Linked DNA regions of Homo sapiens: regions 2, 3, 4 and 5 are each linked to region 1. Evidence: promoter capture Hi-C in 16 types of primary human blood cells and fetal thymus (Javierre and others, 2016). All regions are on one chromosome and are shown on one strand. Each heading gives the region's core, a stretch centred on a gene start or on the middle of the fragment in contact. The rest is flanking DNA. Distances are from core to core; before and after follow the strand shown.

Region 1 (4,108 bases), core at 1,039-3,538:
ACATCATCCATGCAATTAATTACCTATCCACACTCATCTGACCGTAGCTGCACGCTAATTGAGAAAGCAGTGGAAGAGGCAGTAGGATTAAGTCTAAGCACCAACATTTTACTTCCACCATCTCTCCCTCCTAACCCAGCTAGTGTCTGAGCAATTCTGATCAGCCTTGTCACAGTCCTATCTTTTACAGATCTCTCTCCCCAAAAGACAGGATGACCATAAAATAAATAAGGCTCTGAATTGTCCTGTTGCATTGGATATTCGTTCTTTACTGCTATAATGGAGCAGAAGCATTTGGAACATTTTTACTGATCATGATAAAACCTGCTGATACACTTATTTTGCTGAACCTAGCCTTCTGATGTAATCATTACTCTCCTAGAACTTCAGCATCTTAGTAAGGTAACCACGGCAACATACTCATTGATAGGGCAGGTTTTCCCAGACCAGCAAATTCTTATAGGCAAAAACTTAATTTACAAAGTTTAATTTCCAGAAATTAATTTGTGAATTAGATAGCTGAAGCTGGATCATTTTCCCTTAATACTGGTTAACACATACAATAGAAAGTAGTATACAGAGAAAGTATGTATGCAATACTATTAGCCAAACAAAATACACAGAACAAGAAATTTTATTATCTCCAATGCTGGTGCATGACAAATAACAAGCTTAATTAGAGGAGGAGACAGAGGGAAACTTCAGATACCAAGGTAATTTCTGGGCAGGTTTAAAACCTTTAAAAGTTGATAGAATAACTGTTCATAAAGTCTTTTTAGATATAGCGCTTTTTACTTGACAACTTTTATTAACAGTTCTTACAATATGAAGTTCAACTAAAGTCCTTCATCTGTCAAGTTAAAACAGCAAGCAAAACAAAATTTCTCTAGTATATAACAGCATAAGCAATGGTTTGTTTTCTTTGTACATTCACACACATTTAGTGTCTAGATTTGAAACTTTTTAATTAAGGATGTCTTAATTTTTGACTTTTAAAAATGGTTATGACAATGGATTTTCTTGATTTATAGATCACAGTGGCTTTATAAATGATCAAGATACATGTACAAACAAAATTTCAGATGCTCTTGGAAACACATCTTAAGATACAAAGCACACGTGATACATATTTGAGTTTACTCATCCATTTATCTTACACTGAAAATGTAGCCTTTGATAACTGTGGCTTGACTAGATCACAAAATAGAATTTTCCAAGTTTTCTTAAGCTTTCAGTCCAAATAACTCAAAAGATATGTGTCCTAGTTGGATACATTTTTTTCTCATTATATAATTAGTATCAGTGGGCTTTTGTATTGGCAGTTTGTCTTGGTCATGACTTATTCTTGCAAAACCATCTTTACAGCAAACAAATATGAAAGATATTTTCCCCAATGCAAGGAAAATAATCTGGATCAATAACAAAGTCAAAGCCATAGGTGTTTTAGGACGTTCTTGATAATTGATTTCAACGGTCTTAAAATCTTTTTTCTTTTTCTTTAATGATTCTCTTCCTTTTTCACAACTGTGCAGTCACTGTCCTATTGTGTTCTATTCTGAAAAACAAATTTTTTTGAAGGTCAAGTTTTTCAATGGCACAAAACTATTTGGAATGAACCCAAAAGATAGCGGAAAGTTGGGTCCCTCCTCAAGTAGTTTCCTCCTCTTTTAACAGCATCTAACTACTCTCTATCAATAATCTCATCACAGCCGAGTTCTTCGGTCAGACGATTGACAACCATCAGTGAAAAAAGCTCTTCGATAAAAGCTAACTGATCAAACGGGGTCTTCTCATAATGCATCTGAAACCCGCCATCCAGGGCTGGTTCTCTTGTTCTCAGAAACATCTTGTCGGCTTCTTCAAGAGCGGCTGATACTCTGTAGCCGGCACCACTGAGCTGCTCCTCTTCGGGATAGTCGTAGTCGTCCTCCCAGTCATCAAATTCCTCGCCCTCGTCCTCGCTCTCGAAGTCTGCGCCCGCCACCTGGCCTGGCTGCTCCCCAGCGTTGGGCCCGTTAGCAAGGCTCCGTTTCCCCTCTGGCGCCGCCATTGGCTGGGCCTCCTCCTCCTCCATTGGGCCTTCCTCCTCGAGCTGTTGGGCCCCGCTGCGGGAGGGACGCAGGGATAGCTCCCGGCTCCCGCTGCCTACCTCCATCTGCGGAAGGTCACCCTCGCCAGGCATCACATCCATCTGCAGGTCACTGCTCTCTTCATACAGCTCGGACAACTCAGCCATTTCCGACATTGTGCAAACCGCTCAACCTCTAGGAAAAAGCTTCCAGCAAGACAGATGCTGCGCGGCCGTGCGTTCGTGCGCGTGCGCAAAGGCTGCGCGCTTGCGTAACCCCGCGCGCAGGCGTGGTCCTCAGGTACCGCCTCCTACTTGGCGCGCCACTGTGGTTGGAGTAGCTCAGTGTTTTCTCCGGGGTGTTGGCGTCGCCTTTTGAGCTACGTTTCCATCGATTCGAACTTCGTATCTAGGGACCCTGCATGCAAGAGCGTAACAGTTTCTGTGTTACTTAACCCTACTGCTGCTTGTAATGCTGCAAACCGGAAAATAACCTTACATGGCCTTCGTAACATTTAATGCTCCTTCCCCCCCTTCCTCTTCCCCTGGGCAATTTACCGATGTACTGATGACTTGTAAATCCACGTCTCCAAACCAGACAACATCCATAACCACAGATCAGCATATTAAGAACTAATCCATTTTGTCCTTTTAGTGTTTTCATTTAAAAAGTTAAATTCACAAACAACAGATATATTGTACTTTTTTTTTTTTTAGTTATAGTGAAGAAATACTTGGTCCCATTTCTTTTCGCCTGGGAGGTATCTTTCCACTATTAGCAATGCGGTGTGTATTCTTTGAATTCTTTTTATTTGCATTTACATGTATCTTTATGTATTGACAGCAAAATACTATTTTGTGTGTTTTTTAAAAACATGTTTTACCTGTTTTTACCTTCAACTTAAAAGCCTCAGGTTTTAAGTTGTATATACTTATATGAATTATATGACTGTGTATACTTACAGGATTCAAGCACATTTCATTTATTCTGCACTTTATTTCTATTATTATTACATTATAGTTATGTAGAATTATACAACTCACCATAATGTAGAATCAATGGGAGCCCTGAGCTTGTTTTCCTGCAACTAGATGGTCCCATCTGGGGGTGATGAGACACAGTGACACCCGAGGTGTGTTCCTTATGTCCGGTCTATTCTGTAATCTCATTTTGGTTGCTGTTACTGTGGAAAATCCTGCCTCACAAAGATAGGATGTTGAAAATGGAAGGAGGCTTTTCAGTACTTTTGTGGCAATCTCAGGATGTTCCGCCTTGACTTTAATCGAGAACGTATGGAGATTTGAAGTTGTCTCAAACATACTTTTAAGGCCACCGTCATTTGCAATATCAAGCAGTTGATCCTCTTCTAGCGTGGACAAAGTGGATTCACCTGGCTTATTCACAAATGGGTCACAGATCCATTCCGTCTTTTGTGGATGAGAAGTGTGATGGTTAATACTGAGTGTCAACTTGATTGGATTGAAGGATACAAGTATTGATCATTGGTGTGTCTGTGAGGGTGTTGCCAAAGGAGATTAACATTTGAGTCAGTGGGCTGCGAAAGGCAGACCCACCCTTAATCTGGTTGGGCACAATCTAATCAGCTGCCAGCTTGGCTAGAATATAAGCAGGCAGAAAAATGTGAAAAGAGAGACTGGCCTAGCCTCCCAGCCTAAATCTTTCTCCTGTGTTGGATGCTTCCTGCCCTCGAACATTGGATTCCCAAGTTCTTCAGTTTCAGAACTCGGACTGGCTCTCCTCTCTCCTTAGCCTGCAGACAGCCTATTGTAGGACCTTGTGATCATGTGAGTTAATACTTAGTGAACTCCCCTTTACATATATATACATATATATGTGTATATGTATGTGTGTATGTGTATATACGTGTGTGTGTGTGTGTATATATATATGTATATATTCCATTAGTTCTGTGCTTCTAGAGAACCATGACTAATACAGGAAGTAATGCTCAAAATATTTTGAAAGCTGAGATAGGTGATCATGCACCAGCTGGGAGAAAGAAGACCCTGGCTCAGTCT
Region 2 (4,108 bases), core at 507-3,006, 1.8 Mb before region 1:
AGTAGAGACGGGGTTTCACCGTGTTGGCCAGGCTGGTCTAGAACTCCTGACCTCAGGTGATCCACCCGCCTCGGCCTCCCAAAGTGCTGGGATTACAAGCATGAGCCACCGCGCCCACCCAATCCTGTTCCCCATTTCTAACTCTAAATTTTCCAATTTACCAAAGAGTTCTGGCAAGTGCCAAGGAGCTCATCTTGTTTCATTTCTACACCATCCAACTAAGGAGCGAAGCATTCGTGAGTACAAAAAGACCAGAGTTACAAAGTTCTAACGAAACAAAGCACTCTAATCTCATTTTATTTTGATTTTCCAGTTTGTCTGCCTCTACCTTCTAGATTATAAACTCCCTACAGGCAGGAAATGTGTAGGCCCAACTGAAATCCAGAAGATAAACATTTATTGACTGCATGCATAAATTAGTCAAGATGCCTTCCCCAAGGCTGACAATTTAGTGTGACACATATATTAAAACATTTTTAAGTCTTGGTTCTGCTGGACCTGCCAGATGGGGAAGAAATACACAATACCTGAAGATTGTTCACAAGCTGGGGGAACCAGTGGGTGGATTAGTTTTTTTTCTGAGAGAAGATCCTACTTCAGTGAATTGTGGGTCATAATGTTTGAGAGGCAATAATTATGCTGAATGAAAGAAGTTAGACGGAAAAAAAAGGTGCGTGCTGTATGATTCCCGTATATAAAACTTTAGCATGTGCAAACTTATCTGTACTGAAAGTAGATCTGTAGTTGATAAGGGACGTGATGGAGAGGGACGAGATGAAGGGATTATGAAGGGGGGGGAGGAAACTTAGAGGTGAATACGTTCATTTGATTATGGTGATTTCATGGGTGCACAGGTATGTCAAAACTTATCAAATTGGACATTTAAATACGTGCAGTTTGTCATGTCAATTATTTTAAAATAAAGTCGTTTTTAAAAAAGAGATAAGACAGTCAGATCCCTGAGGGTCAGATTGAGGAACTCTCGAAGACTTCAGGAGCAGAAAGATGTTAAAGCAGTTTTAAGAAAATTAAACTGATTGTGGTCTTCCCAGTAGATAAGGAATAACATTTAGTAAACCATTGCTAATAGCCAAACCTTGGCATGTGTGACAGCAAAATAAATGGAAAGGTGGATAGGTACATATTACATCAAGGGAACAACCCAGTTTTTGGTGCAGAAGGTGTGGTGTATGCGTGTATGTGGGTGAGTATCTCTGGAGGGAAAAAGACAGTCCCATAGTTAAACAAAGAAGAATATTTACCGGCAGCAACAGGAGAGGCTAGAGAAAGAACATGATTGGGGTAAAAAGATGATTCTGCATTTTGGACGAGGAGAGAGTAACATTTAAAGCCTCTACTCGCTCTGAAGCACACAGAGTGTGTTGCGACACTCGAGTTTGCTGGAGCGAGTCGGCACAGGCCAGGCCTAGTTAGCGGAATGAGCCCACACAGCAACTCCAGACTGGATCCGCAAGCCTTGAACCTTAACCCTCAACCTCCGATTCCCCAAGTTCCACTCTCGTAGCTGAGGCTGAAGTTTGTCTAAGTCCCGCCTAGGTACCCAACGGAGATACGGCGTGAACACCCCACCACTTTCTGGGAACCCAGAGGCGGTCGGCGTGGCGGCGCGAACCTGCCCAGCGCGTGCGCGCGGCGCGCAGGGAGGCGGCCTGGAATCGAGGGAGCGCGCGCCCTTCACGTGACCCGACCCGCGGGCGGCGACGCACGCGCCGCGCCGCGCCGCTCACGTGGTCCGTCCCCAGCCCCGTCGCCGGCGGAGGCGGGCGCGGGCGCGTCCCTGTGGCCAGTCACCCGGAGGAGTTGGTCGCACAATTATGAAAGACTCGGCTTCTGCTGCTAGCGCCGGAGCTGAGTTAGTTCTGAGAAGGTTTCCCTGGGCGTTCCTTGTCCGGCGGCCTCTGCTGCCGCCTCCGGAGACGCTTCCCGATAGATGGCTACAGGCCGCGGAGGAGGAGGAGGTGGAGTTGCTGCCCTTCCGGAGTCCGCCCCGTGAGGAGAATGGTACTGGACCCACGCAGGCCCGGGCGGGGAATGGTTCTGGGGTTGCGGGCGGTAAAGGAGAGACTTGGCAGGCAAGTGTGTGGGGAGCCGCGTTCCATGCGGCGAAGGACCCTCGAATTGCCTTGAGGCTTCCGGATTTGTCCTCTCGGGACGGGTGTGCAGTTCGTTCTGGGGTGAGGGGCGGGAGCAGGTAGCAAGTTAGAGGCGACACCTCTTCGCGGGAATCCCCTGAGCCGAGACTCGGCTCCCAGCGAGGGCCTCTCCAGGCGGCAGAGGCGCGAGCCCGGGACTACCTGGCTGGGCTCAGCTGAGCGGCCTCAGCGCGCCCGACGCAGGGCTCAGCCTACAAGCTCCGCATCTCCTGGGAGCACGGTCCTCCTGGCGCCAGTTGCTGGCAGATAAGGGAACCAAATGCTCTGCTCAAGTTTTACATGGAAAAAAGGGAGGGAGGGCTAGAAGGGTGCAAAAAGGGGGTAGAGGACACGGGTTTGGAGCAGTGCCTTGTTTGCTGTGCAGCGGATACTCTACAGGTACATTTCCTTTTTGGAACCAAAAGGGAGGGATTTGACAATATTGATGGTAGATCTTTTTTCTTTAGCAAGAATTAAGGATTTTGGTGGGTGGGGGGAGGCTTCTGTGGGGACCAAGACAATGTACTGTCAGTCAGGATTTAAGTCGAACTACCGCATCCCTTGCCCCAGAGAACAGTTGATCGTGTTTTAAACCGAAAGGTGCGGAATGGAGAGAGGGAGGCGGTGCATTGCAGCTTCCGATAGAGCTTTTTATTTTTGGATATCAGGAACCAATTTTGAAGATTTCTTAAGAAAGTCATTTACATCAGGGACATGAAGAGCAAAGTAGGTATTTTTGGTCAGTACTTGAATTTGATAGGCTTTATGCAAACAACTCTCCCTCTGCTGGAGTCTGGCAAGTTTGCTTTTCACTGGACGCTAATTCAAGTGCCATACAAAACTAAAATAAGAGTTTTACTTATAACACAAATGTAGTAATACTTTGAATAAATAATGTGTCTTTCACTATTTTCCACCTTATTCTTTTTTGTTTGTTTGTTTTGAGACAGGGTCTCACTCTGTCGCCCAGGCTGGAGTGAAGTGGCGCGATCTCCGCTCACTGCAACATCCGCCTCCGGGATTCAGGCGATTCTCCTGCCTCAGGCTCCCGAGTAGCTGGGACTGTAGCCACCATGCCCGGCTAATTTTTGCATTTTTAGTAGAGACGGGGTTTCACCATGTTTGGCAGGCTCGTCTCTTAATTCCTGACCTCAGGTGATCCGCCCGCCTCAGCCCCCCAAAGTCCTGGGATTACAGGCGTGAGCCACCGCGCCAGGCCAACATGGGAGATTTCAAACTTGCAAAGATACATTGTAGAATGAACTACCATATACCCATTGGCCAGTTTCAACAGCTTCAACCATGTGAATTTTATTTCTTCTATCATTCCTCAATGGGATAATTTTAAAGCAAATCCCAGACAAATGTCATTTATGGATACTTTATTGTGTTTATGTCTAAAAAGACAAGGACTTTTTAACATAACCACAATATTATTATCATGCCTAAAAATTAATAATTGCTTAGTATCATTAAATATTCAGCATATTTCCCTGATTGTCTCATGTTTTAGTCAGTTGATTTGTTAGAATCAGGTTACAAAGAATTCTGCACATAGCATTTGGTCGGTAACTCTTTCAGTCTCTAGTACCTTCTCTCTTGGGGTGTGGGGGTGTCTTTTACCATTTATTTGTTGAAAGAAACCCATCATTTGCCTTGTAGAATTTCCATCAGTTTGGATTTTGTTGAATGCATCCCTGTAGTGTCATGTAACATGTTTCTTTCTCCTCTGTATTTTTTTTTCTTTTTTCTTTTTGTTTGAGACCGAGTCTCGCTCTGTTGCCCAGGCTGAGTGCAGTGTAGCGATCTCGGCTGACTGCAGCCTCCGCCTCCTGGGTTCAAGTGATTCTCCTGCCTCAGCCTCCCGAGTAGCTGGGACTCCAGGTGCGAGCCACCACACCCGGCTAATTTTTGTATTTTTAGTGGAGATGGGGTTTCGTCATATTGGCCAGGGT
Region 3 (4,108 bases), core at 1,095-3,594, 1.4 Mb before region 1:
TCATTCCTTTTTATCATGGAATAATATTCTGTTGTATTGATATACTACGTTTCATTCATTCATCTGAACATTTGGATTATTTCCATTTTTGTCTATTATAATAATTCTGCTATGAACACCCATGTATACGTTTTTGTGTGGACATGATTTCATTTTCCTTGGATATACACCTAGCAGTAGAATTGTTGAGTCATAAAGAACTCTAGGTTTAGCTTTCTGGGGAGCTTCCAGATTATTTTCCAAAATGGCTGTGCCATTTTACATTCCCACCAGTAAAGTATGAGGGTTCTAATTTTTCCCTGTCTTCACCAATACTTGTTGTTATCTATCTTTTTTATTATAGTCATCATAGTCTGTATGAAGTGATTTCTCACTGTAGTTTTTTCAGTAGTAATTAAAAAATTTCCTACCTATTTTAGCCTAAAATTACTTTCCTGACTCTCTTCAAGGAGCCTGCCAGAGAATTCTCTCTCTCGTGCTGTCTCCCTTATGCCTGGGCATAAGCTCTGATAATGCCCTGTCTGGGAAAACTCTTTTGGCCTTCTCAATTTCTATTACATTGAGAGCCCAAGAACCCATGGTCAGTAACAGGCCAATGAGAAGCCTCCTGCATTAGTCTAGGTGAAGGATAATGGTGGCTTGGACCGGAATAGGGTGGTAGTCATGGAAATGGGGAGAATTTGACAGACTAGATTTATTTTGGAAATAGAACTGAATCTGAACAGATTGAATTGGGCAGGGAGCAGGGAAAGTGAAGGGGAAGGAAGACACCAGGTTTATGCCTTCAGCATTTGGGTGGATGAATGGATGGATGAAAGGATAGATGGATGCATGGATGGTGGTTGGATGGATGAGTGGTTGGATGAATGGACGGTCAAGGGGTGAATAGATGGGTGGATGGAAAATGGAGAGATGATGAACTGAGATGGGGAAGACTAGAAGTGGGGCATATTTTTGGGGAAAGACAGTTTTGCAATACGTTAAGTTTGAGGTGCCTCAGAGTCATAAGAGAGGATTTGTCAGAAAGGCAGTTGGATATAAGATTTTGAAGCTCAAAAGACAGGGAGGGCCTGATGGTATGTTTAAACCTATACGGATATCACATAGGTAACATTTCAAGCCTAAGAAATGGGCCGGGCGCAGTGGCTCACACCTGTAATCCCAGCACTTTGGGAGGCTGAGGCGGGTGGATCACTTGAGGTCAGGAGTTCGAGACAAACCCAGCCAACATGGTGAAACCCCATCTCTGCTAAAAACACAAAAATTAGTGGGGCATGGTGGCACATACCTGTAGGCCCAGCTACTCAGGAGGTTGAGGTGGGAGAATTGCTTGAACCCGGGAGGCAGAGGTTGCAGTGAGCCAAGATTGTGCCACTGCACTCCAGCCTGGGCGACAGAGCAAGACTCCGTCTAAACAAAACAAAACAAAAAAAGCCTTAGAAATGGGCAATGCCACCAAAGCAGAAAGATGAAAGGAGGGCAATGCCCTGAGGTGTGCCAGCATTGGAGGAAACAAACAGCCAGAGATGTAGGAGGAAAGCCCAGAGAAACTGTGAGCTGCAAGGATGAAGTAGTAACAAATAAAATGCCACCAAGAGAACCAGAAGGACGACTGGAAACAAATAAACAAGAAAGACTATTGCATTTAGCAACGTGAAAACGTTGGATTACTTTTTACTCAGAAATCAAACCCCAAGGATAGTGTTTCCCCTCCCTACAGGGGTTTCTGCAGGTCCCTTTACACGCCCCCCTTCTACTTCTTTAAGTGCTAAAAGTGATTAATTTGGGGTGATGTTTTAATTTCTATTCTTTTTGGCTTATAACTGTGTTTTTTCATTCTTTGCAACAACAGATAGTATGTTGTAATAGAAAAATCCATTGTGGTCAATGATAACTTCTGCCTGTTCCTGGGCACAGGGGGCATCACTATTAGTGCCTGTTCCTCCCTCCCTACTGCTGATAAGGAAACAGGGGCAGGAATAATACTAATAATTTGTGCTACTTTTTCTGCATACCCTTGGCCTTATTCTGGTCTACTGAGCTGGGAGCTTGTCTGAGGCTGGAGCTCTATTGTCTGAATCCAGGGGCAGAAAGAACTGAGGGCTCTTTTACGGCATCCACCTGGAGGCTGCCTGCAGGCTTGGGTTGCTAAGTGCACTGCTTAATTTAGAAGCGCCTTTTATCCTGGCTCTCTTGACCAGTCAAAGTTGTGGTCGCTGTTTTCTACAAGGACTGGGGAAAGAAAGGGTGGAATTAATTAAACCTGGAGGAAGGGACTTTGAAGGGCGGAGCTAAGGTCAAAGAAAGAACCCTTTAAATAAAGGGCCCACACTGGCTGCCAGGGAGTGCGCAGGACTGGCAAGAGGGAAGCCGGGCTGCTCCACGCCTTTCACGCCTTCCACCTCCTGCGTGTCCATCTGTGAGAAGGAGCCAGAGCCCAAGGGAGATGATGGAGCCTGAGGAGTACAGAGAGAGAGGTGAGCAACGGGCATCCCTGGCCCTCTTCCCTGCTGCTACTCCTGCAGGAACGGCTGCTGGTGGGTGGCCCTTAGATTCTGGGGTGACATTTGATGGGAGCATTAGAATTGCCTTCTGAGAGTTGGCACCAGCAACATTTTTTTTTCTGCGAAAGGAATGTGGGATCAGAGTGTAAAACTTTTCTCAACCACTCTTTCATTCTCCCTCTCATATACCCACTCTCACATATGTCCACACTACCGTGCCTTGCTTTTCCTCCCCACTTTCCCACAAAATTGAGGATTTGGATCCCTGAGCCACTAGATGGGAAAAGGGGATTGTTCATATTCTGAAATAGAAAAAAATTTTCTCAATATTCTGTAATCACTGCAAATCCTTTCTTTCTTAACATTCATTCCTTCATGTGTGAATCTATCAGCAGTGTTCTTTCATTTAGTCATTCATTTCATAAATATTTAGTAGGTGCCTACTCTGTATCAGGCAAAACCAAGTGGTTATCCAGTTCTCAGGCATGGATCTCCCTTAGCAGGAAAGTAGGTAGTTGCTTAAAAAAGAATCTTGAATGTCTATTTCTATAATGTTTTATATCCTCCTACTCACTAATTAGTGTGCGTTAGCTTATTCCATTGCTTTCCTAAGGCACTGTCAGCTGAGAGCAAGTTCCTGTGGATATTTATCTTCTGAGTGGAACACAAATACATTTAGCACTGTTCCTGGATCAGTGGAGGGTTAGGTCTAGAGCTCTCAGATCTCTGGTGGGGCCCTGCTGGAGAAGAACCAGGATGTGAGAGGGTTGAAGGGGAGCAGAAGGAAGATAGAATGGTGTGGAAATCTACCTTTGTCTCATAAGTTTTGTCTGGGGTTGGTTCTGTTCTTAAGAACTTTGCATAAGCTGATGCAGAGGGGAGAAACTGAGTCCCCTCTCCTAGGTAAAAGCAGCCCAGGGAGTACTAAGGAATGGATGTTGAGACAGACAAAGAGATATGTACACACACACACATGCACACACAGCAACAGAGGCACTGAAGACTGCAATCTGAAAGAATAAATAATTTGCAATAGTTTCAGAGTGTTCAACTTGACTTTTTTTTCCTTCCTTACTCATATGTTCATTCACTTGATACATTTTTTTTTAGCATCTAAAAAATATCCTAAGCACTGAGGTGTTGATGGAGGCAGCAGGAGGGAGAGAAAGTCATTAAGATTTGGTGCCACATTTCCCAGGCCAGGGCAGGGGGCTTGGTCTGGATCCATGGTTGTGCTTTAGGGATTCTGTGAGCCTCAGAAATTATACACAAAGTTCTGTGTATATGTAAGCCTACAGTTTTAATCAGATTCTTGAATTAAGTCCTCATATGAGTCCAAAAAAGATGAATAATAACTGATTCAATGGGGATGGTGAAAAAATAGATTTTTTTGTCCTTTATCGGAACTGGGCATGGAATCTTTCTATCTGTGCTAACAGATATAACTGGTGGGTGTGTGTGTAACAATTTTTGGATACAAAGAGCTATAGAGTTTCTATTGAACCTATAAAATAGTTAATAGATGTTCTGTTTCTGAGAAGGAAAGAAAGGTAGGAGAGACAATCAAAATTGAAGTGGATAAAGGAAGGGGAAAGAAAATGAAA
Region 4 (4,108 bases), core at 1,142-3,641, 1.3 Mb before region 1:
TGGGATTACAGGCTTGAGCCACTGCGCCCAGCCTAAAATTTGGCTTTCTGCTTTTAAACTTTTATACAAAGCCTATATTTTTTGGATTATTTATTTCATGCCACATGAAGCAGGTGTGTAAGATTCCTGGTTTCTCACAAGTGAATTAACCTTTCATCTTTCTGTAACCCGCTTAGCTTGCCTCAGTTTCCCCAGCTATGAAATGAAGGGGTAGAGCAAGTGGACACTTCATCCCTTCCAGCACACTTAACAGTTTACATCCATGCAGAGGAAAACAATAAGATGTAGGAAAGAGGCTGGGTGTGGTGGCTCACACCTGTAATCCCAGCACTTTGCGAGGCCAAGGTGGGTGGATCGCTTGATCTCAGGAGTTTGAGACCAGCCTGGGCAACATGGTGAAACCCTGTTTCTACCAAAAATAACAAAAAATTAGCTGGGCATGGTGGTGCATGCCTGTGGTCCCAGCTACTTGAGAGGCTGAGCTGGGAGGATCGCTTGAGCCTGGGAGGCAGAGGTTACAGTGAACTGAAATAGCGCCACTGCACTCCAGCCTGGGCAACAGAACGAGACTGTCAAAAAAAAAAAAAAAAAAGATGTAGGAAAGAGCATGGCTTCGAAGTTGGATAGAGCTAGGTTGGAATTTTAAGCCTCAGTTTTCTCAACTGTATAATGGTGGTGGTGGTGGTGGGGATAGTGATATGTTATCTCCCGGGGTAATAAAAGCATCTACTATAGGGCTTAGCACAGAAATGCATTCTAGAAAGCTGAGGCTCCTCGGCTCCCTCGACCCCTACCCTGTCACCCAGGTCTTTCAGCCCACTCCTGTGTAGGCCTCTTCTTACTGACTGAGAGAAGGAACCCTTGGTCCTTATTCAAGTGCAGAGACAAGCTCTCTGGGAGGGGAAAGCCATCAGCCCTGTGAGTAACAGGTTCTCTGTCACTTCCTGACCTTGTCATCACTTAAGTTACTGTTTCAAGTCTGGCTGAAATGTGGCAGGAGCTAACCACAGAACTGAAAGGGTCACTATTGTGATAGATGCAGTGGGGGCTCACAACGGTCCTGTAGCAGATCCCCAGTATCTTCTCCCTGGGGATCAGGTGGGGTCACCTTTGTTCTGCAGGGAGGGGACAGGATGCTAACAGCAGTTGAGAGCTGGAAGCAACATTGAAGCCTGCCTCATTAGAGAGGAGCAAACCAAGGGACAGAGAGGAGAAGTGACTTTCCCATGATCACACAGCCAGTCAAGCAGCAGAGGTGAGAAGAGCCCCTCTGGATCCACTAGAGTTCGCACTCAAGATCCTCTGCATTTTAATGCAGATGTTATAAGTATTGATTAAGAGCTTGGAATTTGGAGATAGATGGCTGGGCATGAGGCTTCACCTCTCAGGACCTCAGTGGTCTCATCTATAAAAGTCCTATAACAAAGCCTACCCATTGTGAGGATTAAAAACCACACTGCCTGTAGAGTGCTTAACACAGAACCTAGCACATTATCAGCTTCCACAACAGGTGGTCCTAAAAGATCATTATTTGCGATTCAAGGAAACACTGCCAACCTTTTTCTATACCTACAGTTCCGATCTGAACCTCCCTCTGCGAACCCCTTATGCCACGCTGTGGCTCGTCAGTCAAGGCGCCGAGAAGCCCTGGTGCCAGGGCAGGGCGATCCTCGGGGCTCACCTGGCGACACCAGCAGCACCTTCGCCCCGCAGCACTGGAAGCAGTGCAGCAGGGACTTCGCGCGGATGTTGTAATTGAGGCACGCCATGGCACAGCCCAGCTTCACCAGCCCCAGCCACAGCCACACGTAGGCCGGCTCGTTACCCATAAGGAGCGCCACGCAGTCTCCCTGGCGCAGGCCGAGGTGGTCGTGCAGCGCCCGGGCCACTTGATTGCTGCGCCGGTCCACCTGCGCGTAGGTGAGAGTCTCGTCGCGGAAGAGCAGAAAAGGCTTGTGTGGCGTCTGGCGCGCTTTCTCCAGGAACGCCCGCAGGATGGTGCGCGCCGGCCGCCGCTTCCCGTAGCTGCGCACCCTCCGGCCCACGGCGGCCACCTTCAAGAAGTAGCCTATGTCCTGGAAGAAGTATGGGCAGCAGAGGTTCACCAGGAGCGGCAGGAACAGCAGTCCCGCCAGGACTGTGTAGATGGCGGAAAGCATGACGGCTGCGGGGCCCTCTGTCCCAGCGAGGGCAGAGGGTTCACCCCGGGCGTGCAGCGCGGCGACTGGGCGGGCTCCGGGCGGACTGGCGGGCTGCGCCGGGGCGCACGCGGCGGGACGCCGGGCTCGCGTGAGATGAAGGGGAAGACAGAGCTCCTCCGCTGCAGGTACCGCCGCGGGCTCCGGAGCAGGTGTAGTCGTATGCGCGTTGCCGGGGGTTCCGGGCAGGACTGGCCGGCTGAGCCCGCCCCCTTGTGGGGGGCAGCCACCTGCTCTCCCGGCCCTCCCACGCGGTCCTCCCGGGGCTGGGCAGGCTGCCCTGCGGCTCACCAGGAGCCTCGGCCACTTCCCAGCTCGAGTCTGGAGGTCTGGGGTCAAGTCTGGACCTCCTCGCGTTGTGACCGAAGTACTTTACCTCTAGGAGCCACGGTTTCTTTAAATGGTGATGAGACGCGCTTAGCGGACGTTGGGAATATTAAAGGAGATATTGCAGGCGTGGGGCTATTATTTGTTACCACTAATAGAATGGCTTATGGAGATGACACTGTTATTACCGATAAAGTGCCTTATAAATGTCAGACAGTCCTATTATTTATTAATAGCGGGTACCAGGTGCCACTGCCAAACCAGAATCTCATCTCTCCTTCCTGGTCCCAAGGGCTTTCCGCCTGGTCTCTCTTTGTTTCTCAGATTTGCTTCCCAGCCCGACTGCCAGGCGGTCTCCTGTAGCGAAGGCTTCAAGGTTGAACAGAAATGCCTGTGGCAGTCACGTCCAGCTCATCCCAAGCCCTGCCAGGTGAGTGAGGGCAGGACACTCTAACCTAGTCGGCCCTGCCTGGTCGGGGGAGTCCTGATTTCGTGAAGAGCAGTGCTACACCGCACCACCTGAAATCAAGCTTTGACATTATTTTACGATTTTGTTCTGTTAAGTGATCCTGCTGTTCCCTCATGTTGAAAGTTGTCAAGTGTTGTCAGCACAGTTCACACATTTAATAAGTGGCTCTGTCAGAGAATAGTATAGTACAGAGGACATTGAGTAAGTGGTATTGGCATGACTCAAAAACCATTTCTTTTAGAGGAAATGTGAACCTTTCTTTTAATTTGCCTTAGTGCTACTTCTGTACGAAGTGAATGCTCACTACTTGCCACTGAGGAGGGTCAGGATCTAAGTAGTGTTTTATTTTCATCCTCTACTGTCCTCCTGTGTTCCTCTATCTTAATTTGATACGATAAATACAGATAATGCTTATTCCTCCCAGACACGCTGCTAGGAGCTTCCCTATGTTACATTTTGGGAGCCTGAGTTATTTTATACAGGTGGCACTTTCATGCTCATTTACAGACAAGAAAGGGAAGCTTAGGTGAATTGAGACAGCCGGTAAGTAATTCGTGGGTTTTGGAAATGGTATCTGTTTGGTCCCGGGGAACCAACTCTTAGCTTATTCTTAGTAACTATACTATGCTGTCCTCCTATTCTCTAGGTTTCTGTCCATGTCCTCTTTTTTTTTCGGTGTGTGTAAAACACACAAAAATGTTTCACATTCCCTCCAGGCCACCCCCTGCCGTTTTTTAGCCTCCTTTTCGTATCCCTAGTAACTGCGCAAGCAACCTTTCCCTTTTCCTGACTTTTTCATTTCTGATCCAGCTACCTGGTTGCATCATTTCCCTGGGGATGAGCTGGGGGCCTTCATCATCCCTGAGGAGAAAGCAGTAGAATTAACCAAAGTGAGGGCCCGACAGAAACCATTCTCATGTGCACTTCTTTCATGGTGAAGCTCAGAGCCAGCCCTTCCTTTTTCATCCCAATGCCACCCTCGTCCCTTGATGGCTAATCGCTTCTGTGTAGCCACCTGCACCCCTCTTCTCTTTTCCTTGAACAGCTACTGTCTACCCAGAGTGCTAGATTACCACAAGGGTCCACTTTTTCCCCTCTTATTCTGAGGATCACT
Region 5 (4,108 bases), core at 681-3,180, 1.2 Mb before region 1:
TTTTAGTGGGAGGGAGACAATAAACAGCGAGCACATTTAAAATATTTTTTAAAAATGAGATTATCTTATACACAATTCTTCTGCAACTTGATCTTTTCACTTGACAGTACATCTTGGACATCTTTTTCTATGTCAGTCTGAAGAGGCCTATCTCTTATTTATAATAGCTAAATTTATTGAGTCTCTACTTTGCTCCAGGCACTGTTTTAGTTGCAACAATCCTATGAGGTAAGTTCTATAATGATCATCTTTTTACAGATGGCCCAGATAAGTGTAGGAGCTTGCATAGTCACCTGGCCAGTCACTGGTGGAGACAGAACTAAACTCAGATGACCTGATTCCTTACTCCAATTCTACCCTCTTTTGAATGGCTACATAGTACTCTTTTGTATCAATATACCTTAACTTATTTAGGCAGTCTCTTATATGTAAGCCATTTTTAGGTGTTTTTTTGTTGTTGCTATCATAGTGCTATAATTAACATATTTAGAGATATGTTTGCACGTGTGTGTGGTTTTCTATAAGGTAAATTCCTAAGAAATAAAAACACATACACATTTCAATACTTGATAGGCACTACTATACTCAGTTTCCTTTAAAAAATATTTTACCAATTTATATTCCCACTAACAGTATAGGAAAAGGAAAAGGCCCTGATTTCCTTATATCTTCTTTAACAAAGGGAATTACCAAACTTATATTTGCCCCATATGATAGGTTTAAAAATGGTATAGAGGTGATACTTAAAAATGTTTTTCACTTAAAAGTGTTTTTTATTTTAAATATTTTAAAGAGATGATTGCTTCCTGCTCTAAGCTGTTCTTGGTCCTCTTTTATCATGTAAGAAAGAAAGCCATCTCTCTTATTTCCAGAAATCTGTAGTTTCTTGTTACTGTGGAACCTTGGTAGGAAAAGGCCCTTGTTTCTGTGAAAACCTGAGGGCCCAGCGTGAGGATGTTCCAGGAGAGTGGAGTTGATGGTGCGCAGGGGATTAGCTTGCTCTGGTTATAGAGACATGATTAAAATCTATTTGATTTCAGTACTTAACTGGCAAATCTGATGCAACTTCTGGAAAATTCCTAGATGGCTTTAGGCATATTTAAAAGAAGCCATATTTTTCCTTTTAAAAATAGATATGCACCAAAATATTTTATTTTCATCTAATCCCGCTTTAACAACCAGAATCCCCTTAAAAGCAATTCCAAACTAAAAGATGTAAATCCATTTCCTATGTGCATTTGTTCTTTGGTACCATCAGGGTTAATGTTTGCATCCTCTGTGCTGAAATTAAGGATGTTGGGAAAGAAGTGTCATTGCTTTGCCTACTAAATGTCACTTGAGTATGCTTAGCTTTCATCCATAAGAGAGCTGAACTTCCCCTGTAAAAAAAAAAAAAAAAAAAAAAAAAAAGTGACAAAAACCCACTGCTGATTCTTTCATCTCTGCAAAAGCAGGTGGGAACTGCAAACAGATTTGCTTATCTTCCTCAGTCAAGGGCTGGTAAAAGTTTGGTAAGTAGGCCTGGTAGCCGGTGTCCCCTTCCATTGTTCATTTTCATCCTCCTGAATTCTTGATTCCCACAGAGGAAGCCATCCTCAGAAGCCAGCCTCTTGGGAGTTTCCTTTTGTTTCCCCAAGATTAACCAGTTCTGTCCTGTCAGCAGGAGCAGGCAACTAGGGGAGGAGAGGCTCTTCAGGGCTTTCAGCATTTTTCCAAGGAGTGCTTTTCTCCCTCAATTCCTCACTGACAGTGAAGCTGCTTTCTTGTAAGGTCTTCCTCTTCTTCTGATGAGATGCTGATTCTGATTGCCATCTAGCAGCTTCCGGTGGTGGTAAGTGGTCAAGAGTGTTTTTCCAGGAGTTGATCTCAGGTTTTTGAGAATGCCCCCTAGAGACCCAGTTTGTTTTCTGTATCATCCCTCAAGCTTTCAGAGTAGCCTTGCTTTTCTCCTTGGCATGGTCACGGAATGGATACCTGTTTGATCTTCCTGCACTGCTGAGAAATCTTCCTTTTGGGGGAGAGGATTAAGTCTGGGTTGAGGTGAGTAGATGGGTAGCATTCAATGGTTAGTGAGATGAAGTGGAAATTTAGCTGTGGGCTGGTTGGAACGATCTGTTTCTTTTCTCCAGATCCCTATTTTGTTTTGCTGTTTTCATCTTGGTGACTAAGGTTTCACAAATATTCTTTATTATTCCCCTTTTGCTAAAAAATAAATTTGGGGGAGTTAGTTGGAAATGGGAGATGTGACATTTTCTTTTTTGTTGTTTGAAATGTCTATTTTTTACTCTGTTAGCATGCCTATTAAATGACCAATGATAGTAGCATAAAGGTACATTTCTTCTTGGTTTGTAGGTCTTTGTCACTTCCTTTGGTAGTAGTTGGTTTTATTTTTTTCACGGGGTTTGTATACAGTGCACCTATTCAATATATTGTTTATGGTCAATTTATGCTTTAGACATGAACAGTTTGCACTGAGCTATCCCTCTGAGGTTTGAGGGTTATGTTTTTAGTGCTAAAATTTGTCTGAACAGAAAAAGGTATCCTTCTAGTTGTTTTGTTTATAGGCAAGAGAGTGTCTCAGGTCCCTGGTTAACAATTAGCTGTTTTGAAGAAAAGAAAACTGGTGAAAAACATTAATTGGAAGCTGAAGTCTTGTTAGAAAGTAAATGAGGAAACACAGGTTTTCTTGTGGGATTACCAACACCTGTGCCCATGAAGTATCCCCTTTTACTCAGCTGTTGCTCCATGCTGGCCTTTACTACAAAATGTAAACTCAGAGTGATTTCAGTTTTGATTTTTTTAAATGTATTTTTTATTTTTTATGTGATATGTAATAACTGCACATATTTATGGGGTACATGTGATATTTTGGTATATGCATACGATGTGTAATTAGCATATATATCACCTCAAACATTTACCATTTCTTTGTGTTGGGAACATTCCAAATCTGCTAGCTATTTTGAGATACAATAAATTATCATTATCTATATCGTTTATTTTATCGTTTATATCTATATCGTTTATTATAAATAAAAAATAAATTATCATTATCTATTGTCATACTACCGTGTTATCAAATACTAGAACCTGTTCCTTCTATCTGACTGTATGTTTGTACCCATTAACCAGCCTACCTTCACCCCCTTCTTCCTCTTCCCCTTCCTAACCTCTGGTAACCACCATTCTCCCTCTCTACCTTCATGAGATCAACTTTTTTAGCTCCCACATATGACAGAGGATATGTGATATTTGTCTTTCTGTGCCTGGCTTATTTTGCTTAACATAATATCCTCCAGTTCCATCCATGTTGCTGCAAATGATAGAGTTTTATTCTTTTTCATGGCTGAATAATATTCCATTGTATATAAATACCACATTTAAAAATTTTATTCCTCAAGAAGAAATATTATTGCTTCCATATCTTGGCTATTGTGAATAGTGCTGCAATAAACAGGGGAGTACAGATATCTCTTCAAGGTACTTATTTCCTTTCTTTTGGATGTATTCCCAGAAGTGGGATTGCTGGATCATATGGTGGATCTGTTTTCACTTTTTTTGAGAAACCACAGAGTGATTTATTTTAACCTATATTGTGCCTTTATATTGTCTCATCATGCAGAAATATTTAAAAATGAGGGAACAAATGATTTTTTTTGTGCCCCTGGAGGATTTTTTTGTGGGTGGGAGAATTTTATTTTTTTCATATGTGGCATATTGAATATTTTCATTTAGTAGGAAAAGAGTTAACTAACCATCTAAAAGTAAATTGGAAATTGTAGCTGTCATTGAAATTAAACTTAATGTATGTTTGGCCAGATGCAGTGGCTCATGCCTGTAATCCCAGCACTTTGGGAGGCTGAGGCAAGTGGATTACTTGAGGTCAGGAGTTCGAGACTACCCTGGCCAACATGATGAAACGCCCTCTCTACTAAAAATACAAAAATTTACCAGGCATGGTGGTGGGCTCCTGTAATCTCAACTACTCAGGAGGCTGAGGCAGGAGAATCGCCTGAACCGTGTGGTGGAGGTTGCAGTGAGCCGAGATCAGGCCACTACACTCCAGCCTGGGTGACAGAGCGAGACTCTGTCTCCACAAAAAAATAAA

What was found. Contacts are between HindIII fragments. The CHiCAGO score rates a contact against its expected background, and 5 or more counts as called.
Region 2: the fragment with the promoter of TRPM7 here is called in contact with the fragment with the promoter of EID1 in region 1 in 1 of 17 cell types (naive CD8 T cells); the score reaches 7.2 in naive CD8 T cells.
Region 3: a contact is called between the fragment with the promoter of HDC here and the fragment with the promoter of EID1 in region 1, in 6 of 17 cell types (total B cells, monocytes, neutrophils and 3 more). The highest score is 8.7, in total B cells.
Region 4: the fragment with the promoter of SLC27A2 here is called in contact with the fragment with the promoter of EID1 in region 1 in 12 of 17 cell types (total CD8 T cells, total CD4 T cells, naive CD4 T cells and 9 more); the score reaches 16.5 in total CD8 T cells.
Region 5: the fragment with the promoter of ATP8B4 here is called in contact with the fragment with the promoter of EID1 in region 1 in 3 of 17 cell types (monocytes, total CD8 T cells and naive CD8 T cells); the score reaches 6.6 in monocytes.

Annotation. Positions count from the first base shown.
Region 1 is chr15:48,876,314-48,880,421 of GRCh38, reverse strand. It overlaps EID1 (EP300 interacting inhibitor of differentiation 1), which reads right to left and starts at 2,288. Exons shown (of 1, transcript NM_014335.3): 1 at 249-2,288. The coding sequence starts at 2,245. The coding sequence ends at 1,682. The region is part of intron 4 of SHC4 (SHC adaptor protein 4); the gene reads left to right. RefSeq lists enhancers at 2,034-2,333, 2,604-2,713. The HindIII fragment of the contact is 2,982 bases long and covers 2,278-4,108 here.
Region 2 is chr15:50,684,445-50,688,552 of GRCh38, reverse strand. TRPM7 (transient receptor potential cation channel subfamily M member 7) reads left to right here and starts at 1,756. Exons shown (of 39, transcript NM_017672.6): 1 at 1,756-2,022. The coding sequence starts at 2,020. LOC128092252 reads left to right here and starts at 1,836. Exons shown (of 4, transcript NM_001414947.1): 1 at 1,836-2,022. The coding sequence starts at 1,836. RefSeq lists enhancers at 1,365-1,544, 1,855-2,274, 1,804-2,668 and a silencer at 1,635-1,804. The HindIII fragment of the contact is 16,005 bases long and covers 1-4,108 here.
Region 3 is chr15:50,263,962-50,268,069 of GRCh38, reverse strand. HDC (histidine decarboxylase) reads left to right here and starts at 2,344. Exons shown (of 12, transcript NM_002112.4): 1 at 2,344-2,477. The coding sequence starts at 2,447. The HindIII fragment of the contact is 18,026 bases long and covers 1-4,108 here.
Region 4 is chr15:50,180,479-50,184,586 of GRCh38, reverse strand. It overlaps SLC27A2 (solute carrier family 27 member 2), which reads right to left and starts at 2,391. Exons shown (of 10, transcript NM_003645.4): 1 at 1,682-2,391. The coding sequence starts at 2,159. It also overlaps a transcript of ATP8B4 not described here. RefSeq lists silencers at 1,790-1,889, 2,160-2,499. The HindIII fragment of the contact is 4,085 bases long and covers 1-3,057 here.
Region 5 is chr15:50,117,055-50,121,162 of GRCh38, reverse strand. ATP8B4 (ATPase phospholipid transporting 8B4 (putative)) reads left to right here and starts at 1,930. Exons shown (of 28, transcript NM_024837.4): 1 at 1,930-2,040. The HindIII fragment of the contact is 5,193 bases long and covers 1,927-4,108 here.